2 separate regions of the Homo sapiens genome follow, and region 2 is linked to region 1. The links are contacts of gene promoters, found by promoter capture Hi-C in blood cells and fetal thymus (Javierre and others, 2016). All regions are on one chromosome and are shown on one strand. Each heading gives the region's core, a stretch centred on a gene start or on the middle of the fragment in contact. The rest is flanking DNA. Distances are from core to core; before and after follow the strand shown. Region 1 holds the start of LRRTM3 (leucine rich repeat transmembrane neuronal 3). Region 2 has its middle 58 kb from the start of LINC02671.

Region 1 (3,618 bases), core at 645-3,144:
GGGCAGTCTATCTTTTTAAGAAACTCACTGGATGTTTCATGTGCATTCACAGCTTAGGTAACTCTGGGGGAAAGCACTGCCCTATTAAGAACATACTGCCCAAGGAATTGGTAATATCCATTGTACTATATCTGTAGGACCCCTTTTGATTGTCATTACTAGCCTTTATCAAACATCTCATCCTTGGAGAATGTGAAAGCTCTCCACGGTTTTCCACAGACAGTTCACCTAACAAAAAACAACAAGGCAAACTTTTTCAAGAATACCATTATTTTTAAATAAAATGCCTCTACATGGCAGATGTTATTATGTTCTACTTTGGAGATGAAAAGAATCGAACATTATTAGTCATGATCCACAGAACCAGAAGATTTATTTTAAAGATAAAGTTCAGATGATGAACATAAAGGAAGTTATCTCATCAAAGAAGGCAAGACTGAGTAAATCTCAGAAATCCACCATGTACAATATTTAAAAATGCTCACTAAAGTTGTTCTTTGTGAGTTAATGAAGGTCAGTATAGTCAATATTCAGTACGTAATCCTAGCAAGTACAAATAAAGTTAATATTATTCAAATATCTTACACAGGCTTATTGCATGCAACACACTGTTCTAAGTAACATACAGATATTAAAATGACTTAATTCTCAAAACATGAAGTGAGTTTTTGTTTTTATGCCCGTTTTGCAGATGAGAAAACTGAGGCATAGGGAAGGTAAGTAACGCGCTTAAGGTTACATAGCTGGTAAATTGTAGCCAGGAGTTGGAATCTAGGTGCCAAAATCTATGCTGTTAATCACTAAACTACGCTGCCTTAGTTTTTATACTTCTTTAGGAACCTCAGACCAAAAGAAATTTAGGCAATTCTAATAGAACAAGCAAGAATTTGCTAATCACAGCTTCCTTGCCCCAATCCTTTAATCGGCTTCATTTTCACTGACTTCTTTTTTAAATGAAGATAACAATGTTGTTGAACAGGATCATCTAGTGGTTAGTGGTTCGGCATAAGAATGACTCGCTTCTGAAGCTCAGCTCTAGCACTCGCTTGCTGTATGACCTTGAGAAAGTTACCTCCCCAAGTCTGTTTCCTCATCTTTAAAAGAGAGGTTATAATAGGACCCACATCATACTATTGTTTAAAGAGAAAACAACGTAGCCCATTTAAAGCACTTAGAAAGTGCTCCATAAATATTATTAGTGTAATAAATAGCAGCAACATCAATAAAGTATGAACCAAATGATCTCTTGATTCGTATCCTAACACTAAAAATGGTTTATTTCCCTTCTAATTAAAAGAGAATTACAACAACCAAAACAACAAACGAAACTATAGCCATAAAATCAATTATATCGTCTGTGAGAAAACCGGAAAGGCTATTGGACACATTAATTCACTTGTCATCAGTCATCCCCTCTATTCCAAAATGTTTGTGTTCTAACATCCTGAGACACCTTGCATAATATAATCACTGTGACTCCAAGAGGTCAAATGGGCAGGCAGTTAATGCTTCTCTGTGAAAAGCTCAATAATTCATTTTATAAATTTCAGTTTAAAGCCTGCGTTGAGGTTAAGAAAAATTGACGTTCGGTCTGTGAACTTAATGTCAAGCTCCAGAAAAACTCTGGGCAGCACATGTTTAGCAATTAAGTGGACACAGACAATAAAGACGTTGCCAAATTGTAAAACAAGACTTGGAAATCACAGAAAATGTTGCTAGTTATTGATCACGGTGACCATTCAGTTCCTACTGAGCCACCCAAAAGAATCATTCATTTTCCAGCAGAGAGCCTGCTCATTTGCAAGATAAAAGAGAGACATTTCTGCACATGCCCATAATGTTCTTCACCACTGGGGGCAGCTTTACATAAGACTGCATTCACTGAAACCAAAGCAACAGTCCGAGCAGCTTTCAGAATGACAGTCTGCAGAAGTGAGCTGAGCGTGTGCGCGGTACGGGGCTCTCCTGCCTTCTGGGCTCCAACGCAGCTCTGTGGCTGAACTGGGTGCTCATCACGGGAACTGCTGGGGTATGGAATACAGATGTGGCAGCTCAGGTAGCCCCAAATTGCCTGGAAGAATACATCATGTTTTTCGATAAGAAGAAATTGTAGGATCCAGTTTTTTTTTTAACCGCCCCCTCCCCACCCCCCAAAAAACTGTAAAGATGCAAAAACGTAATATCCATGAAGATCCTATTACCTAGGAAGATTTTGATGTTTTGCTGCGAATGCGGTGTTGGGATTTATTTGTTCTTGGAGTGTTCTGCGTGGCTGGCAAAGAATAATGTTCCAAAATCGGTCCATCTCCCAAGGGGTCCAATTTTTCTTCCTGGGTGTCAGCGAGCCCTGACTCACTACAGTGCAGCTGACAGGGGCTGTCATGCAACTGGCCCCTAAGCCAAAGCAAAAGACCTAAGGACGACCTTTGAACAATACAAAGGATGGGTATGTTTTGTCATTTTTCTTCTTTCCTTCTTAAAAACAAAAAACAAAAAACCTCTAGTGTGTGTAATAATTCTGCCTTAATTATTTTAGAGATTACCTTGCTCTGCTCTAAGACTATGAATTTATTTGCTTAGTGGCATGTTTCCTTGTTTAACTATTTAAAAAAACAAAACACTAAAGACAATTCTCTTTAATTACAAAGAGATAATATGTGATGTTAAGTGTTATTTAGATTTAAATTTTTAAAAATGAAAAATATATGCCTATTTTTGCTTGATTAAGGATTAATTCTTTTTTGGGGGGATAACTTTTCTAAGTTGTTTTTATTTCCAGGTTTCAATGTAATTAGGCTACTGAGCGGATCAGCTGTAGCACTGGTTATAGCCCCCACTGTCTTACTGACAATGCTTTCTTCTGCCGAACGAGGATGCCCTAAGGGCTGTAGGTGTGAAGGCAAAATGGTATATTGTGAATCTCAGAAATTACAGGAGATACCCTCAAGTATATCTGCTGGTTGCTTAGGTTTGTCCCTTCGCTATAACAGCCTTCAAAAACTTAAGTATAATCAATTTAAAGGGCTCAACCAGCTCACCTGGCTATACCTTGACCATAACCATATCAGCAATATTGACGAAAATGCTTTTAATGGAATACGCAGACTCAAAGAGCTGATTCTTAGTTCCAATAGAATCTCCTATTTTCTTAACAATACCTTCAGACCTGTGACAAATTTACGGAACTTGGATCTGTCCTATAATCAGCTGCATTCTCTGGGATCTGAACAGTTTCGGGGCTTGCGGAAGCTGCTGAGTTTACATTTACGGTCTAACTCCCTGAGAACCATCCCTGTGCGAATATTCCAAGACTGCCGCAACCTGGAACTTTTGGACCTGGGATATAACCGGATCCGAAGTTTAGCCAGGAATGTCTTTGCTGGCATGATCAGACTCAAAGAACTTCACCTGGAGCACAATCAATTTTCCAAGCTCAACCTGGCCCTTTTTCCAAGGTTGGTCAGCCTTCAGAACCTTTACTTGCAGTGGAATAAAATCAGTGTCATAGGACAGACCATGTCCTGGACCTGGAGCTCCTTACAAAGGCTTGATTTATCAGGCAATGAGATCGAAGCTTTCAGTGGACCCAGTGTTTTCCAGTGTGTCCCGAATCTGCAG
Region 2 (3,360 bases), core at 620-3,119, 1.9 Mb before region 1:
TATACTTTTAAAGGAGAAATGATATGTGAGGGGCCTTGACCTTCCTATGGATTATTAGTAATATGACTATAGATGATCAAGTTAAGACAAAATCATTAGGATGGGTCCTAATTCAATATGACTGATGTCTTTATAAGAAGGGGAAATTTGGACACAGAGATAGATGTGCATAGAAGAAGATGTGAAGACACAGAAAGAATGCCATCTGTAAACCAAGAAACATCTGAGGCTACCAGAAGAGACAGTAATGGAACAGATTCTCCTTCATGATCCTCAGAAAAAACAAATCTTGTTGACTCCTTGATTTTGGACCTCTAGCCTCTAAAACTGTGACAATAAAAATTTCTATTGTTTAAGCCACCTAGTTTTCTGTACTTTTCTACAGAAGCACTAGAAAAGTAAGATAGTCCTGTCTTAGTCTGTTTCGTGCTACTATAAAGGAATACCTGAGACTCGGTAATGAATAAACAAAAAAGGCTTATTTGAAGCTTGCAGTTCTGCAGGCTGTTTGAGAAGCATGTTACTGGCATCTGTTTGGCTTCTGGTAAGGGCCATAGACTGATTCCACTAATGGCAAAAAGCAAAGGGAAGCTAGTGTGTGCAAAGATCACATGGCAAGAGAGGAAGCAAAGGGGTAGGGGAAGGTACCAGGCTCATTTTAACATCCAATTTTTTCAGGAATGAATAAAGGGAGAGCTCACTCAGCTTTCCTTACCCCTGCCAGAGGTGGCATCATTCTATTCATGAGGTATTCAGCCCCATGACCTAGCTCCTTCCATTAGGTCCTGCCTCCAATATTGGGAATCGAATTTCAACATAAGGTTTGCAGGAATCAAACATTCAAACTACATCAAGTAGGGATTTTCTGGTTGACCCTGAGAAGACTGGAACCATGTATTCAATTAACTGTTCCATGGATTAGATGGTGTCAGATGTCAGATGTCAGTGCGAACCCTTTGCTCTTACCACATCAGTGCACATTGCCTGATATTGAACTCATCGCACTTTCTCTGGACATCAGAGCCTATTTTGCCAAAATATCGGGGTAGGGGAAAATGAACTTTGTGAGCACCCTTTTACTGAGTGACAGGAGGCTATAAATAAATATTCTAGCTTATTTCACATTCAAGAGAGATAACTGAATTGTATGTTCTAATAAAGCTTCCAGAGCACTCCAGCAGGATCAAGCTCCAGTTACCTACAGTGGTAACCAGCCCAATAATGCACATTATTATCTGTCTTTCCCTCTTTACCTTTTCCTTACTGGTATGCTATCAAATCTCTGTTTAGGCTTTGCTTCTGTGGGAACCAAAGCTAAATTAATCTATGTTTTCTACATATATTGACTGTACTCTGTCAGAAACTTACATGTCCTGAGAATTCCATGGTAAATAAAACAGACCTCATGAGGCTGGCAGGAATAACATTAAAATGAGTATAAAAAAATAGTAATGTAATTATACTTGTGTTATGTGTTCTCTCTCTCTGTCTCTCTCTCTTTGCTGTGTGTGTGTGTGTATTTTTCCATGTCAATACTTTGTTTAGATGCATATGACCATAGATGCAGTGTGCCTCATCCAGATATTTGGCCCAACTCCTCTGGCTTTCATCCTAACACTTTAGCAATCTCAGAAGAGAAAGCTACTCATCTTCAATATCTGTGATAAAGCTTTACCAACTACATGGGCAGACAGTTGGAAGACACTGATTAACTTGGTTTAAATCACATGTGATGAAAGAGTAATAGAGGCAAGATCAGCCATCACTTATTTCACTTTTTTAGATAATGAAGAAGTTAACTGTGGCAGAGCTAGATCTAAGGCATGAACTCCTTTGTATATTCTTCCCACCAGATAACACTGCATTCCACTTGTGTTAATTATCCTGTCATGGTTCTAGGTCCTACTCTACTCTGTAAAAGCCTAAGGTTATCACAATAATCAACATAAATTAACATGCTCCTGCTATTGTTAGCTGTCCCAATGTGTGTTGTCATACATATATTATGTAAACTGAGAAAATAACTCTTGTCACTACTGTATATATGATAGGTGAAATAATCAAAATATGAAGCTTAAGAAAAAAATGTTTATTTTAGATAAAAATACCTTGTTTTAACATTGATAGAAATGTTATGTTCTCATTTGTTATTTCATTGGACTTGTATTTTGAATCATATATTATTGATTCTTTGGGTCAAACATGACTATACTAATCATGTACTTTTCTCTCAAGATCCAATTGCTTATATTGTGAATCAATTACTCTAGAGAGCTCATTGATTCTACATAAACAGTTCATAACTAATGAATTTCTGATTGATTTTGAATTTTCTTTTAGTATTTTTATATAGGAAATTATCACTTAATAAACTACCACAAGACAAACAGAAAGAACACTTTGGTTCCAATACTTTCCAGGTGAGAGGACGGTAAAATCACCTTAATCTTATTTATTTATTACTTTTACTGAAGTATTCTTTAGACTTAACTTCCAACTCTCTTTAGAATATTTAGTTGTCCCACAAGTACCCAGAATATCAGGTATTGACTTCACATTTTCCTAAGATGTCATTAGTGTGCAATTATTGTTTTTGATTTTTTTTTGGATTTTTTTTGCCTATAATTTATACAATTGTAAATATATTTTTATTTTATGAAGTCTGAAATCTAGAATCAATTTTAATTTTGTCCACCCTGTCACTCTATGTTGCTTAGATCAATGAGCCCCATAACTCTGTCAGATGACATACCTTATAATTCTATTTTTCTCTTGCATCTTTCCTGGTACAGTATATATAGTCTATTTATTACAAATTTGATACATTATATAAATATACATTACATATATTTGATATACAACAGTCTTCAAAGAGTTCATGAAAAATGCATAATATACAAAACCTATTCATGGATTTCTATTTTTTTGCACCAAAATAAACTTGTAGTAATTTGTTATAACACATTCAAACAAGATCTAGTTTGAGGCACTAGGAAGGATAAGACATCATTTCAAAATAAACTCCTATCAGAGCAACATAAATTCTGCTAAAATTTAAACAAGAAAAACATCAAATTTATGGTGAAGCTGGTGTGCAAAAATGGTGGAATCACTGATGCTTTATGGAAAGTTTATGGGGGCAATGCTCCAAATAAATCAGCATCTTACAAATGATGATTTTTAAATACTCATCTTAAGAAAAGATAAGACAACATCGAAGATGAAGCCTGCAGTGGTAAACTATGTACATCAATTTCTGAGAAAAAGTTAATTTTGTTCATGTCCTAATTGAAGAGGATCTAAAATTAACAGTACAAACAATAACCAACACTATAGACATCTTTATTTGTTCATTGTACA

What was found. Contacts are between HindIII fragments. The CHiCAGO score rates a contact against its expected background, and 5 or more counts as called.
Region 2: a fragment that was not itself captured here is called in contact with the fragment with the promoter of LRRTM3 in region 1 in 1 of 17 cell types (M2 macrophages); the score reaches 6.1 in M2 macrophages.

Annotation. Positions count from the first base shown.
Region 1 is chr10:66,924,142-66,927,759 of GRCh38, forward strand. It overlaps LRRTM3 (leucine rich repeat transmembrane neuronal 3), which reads left to right and starts at 1,895. Exons shown (of 3, transcript NM_178011.5): 1 at 1,895-2,446; 2 at 2,780-3,618. The coding sequence starts at 2,443. The region is part of intron 7 of CTNNA3 (catenin alpha 3); the gene reads right to left. All of the region lies in intron 3 of LOC101928961 (a long non-coding RNA gene), which reads right to left. RefSeq lists an enhancer at 1,282-2,138 and a silencer at 1,758-1,867. The HindIII fragment of the contact is 12,033 bases long and covers 1-3,572 here.
Region 2 is chr10:64,980,943-64,984,302 of GRCh38, forward strand. No RefSeq gene overlaps it. Among named protein-coding and RNA genes, the nearest start is that of LINC02671, 58 kb to the left of the region's middle. The HindIII fragment of the contact is 404 bases long and covers 1,668-2,071 here.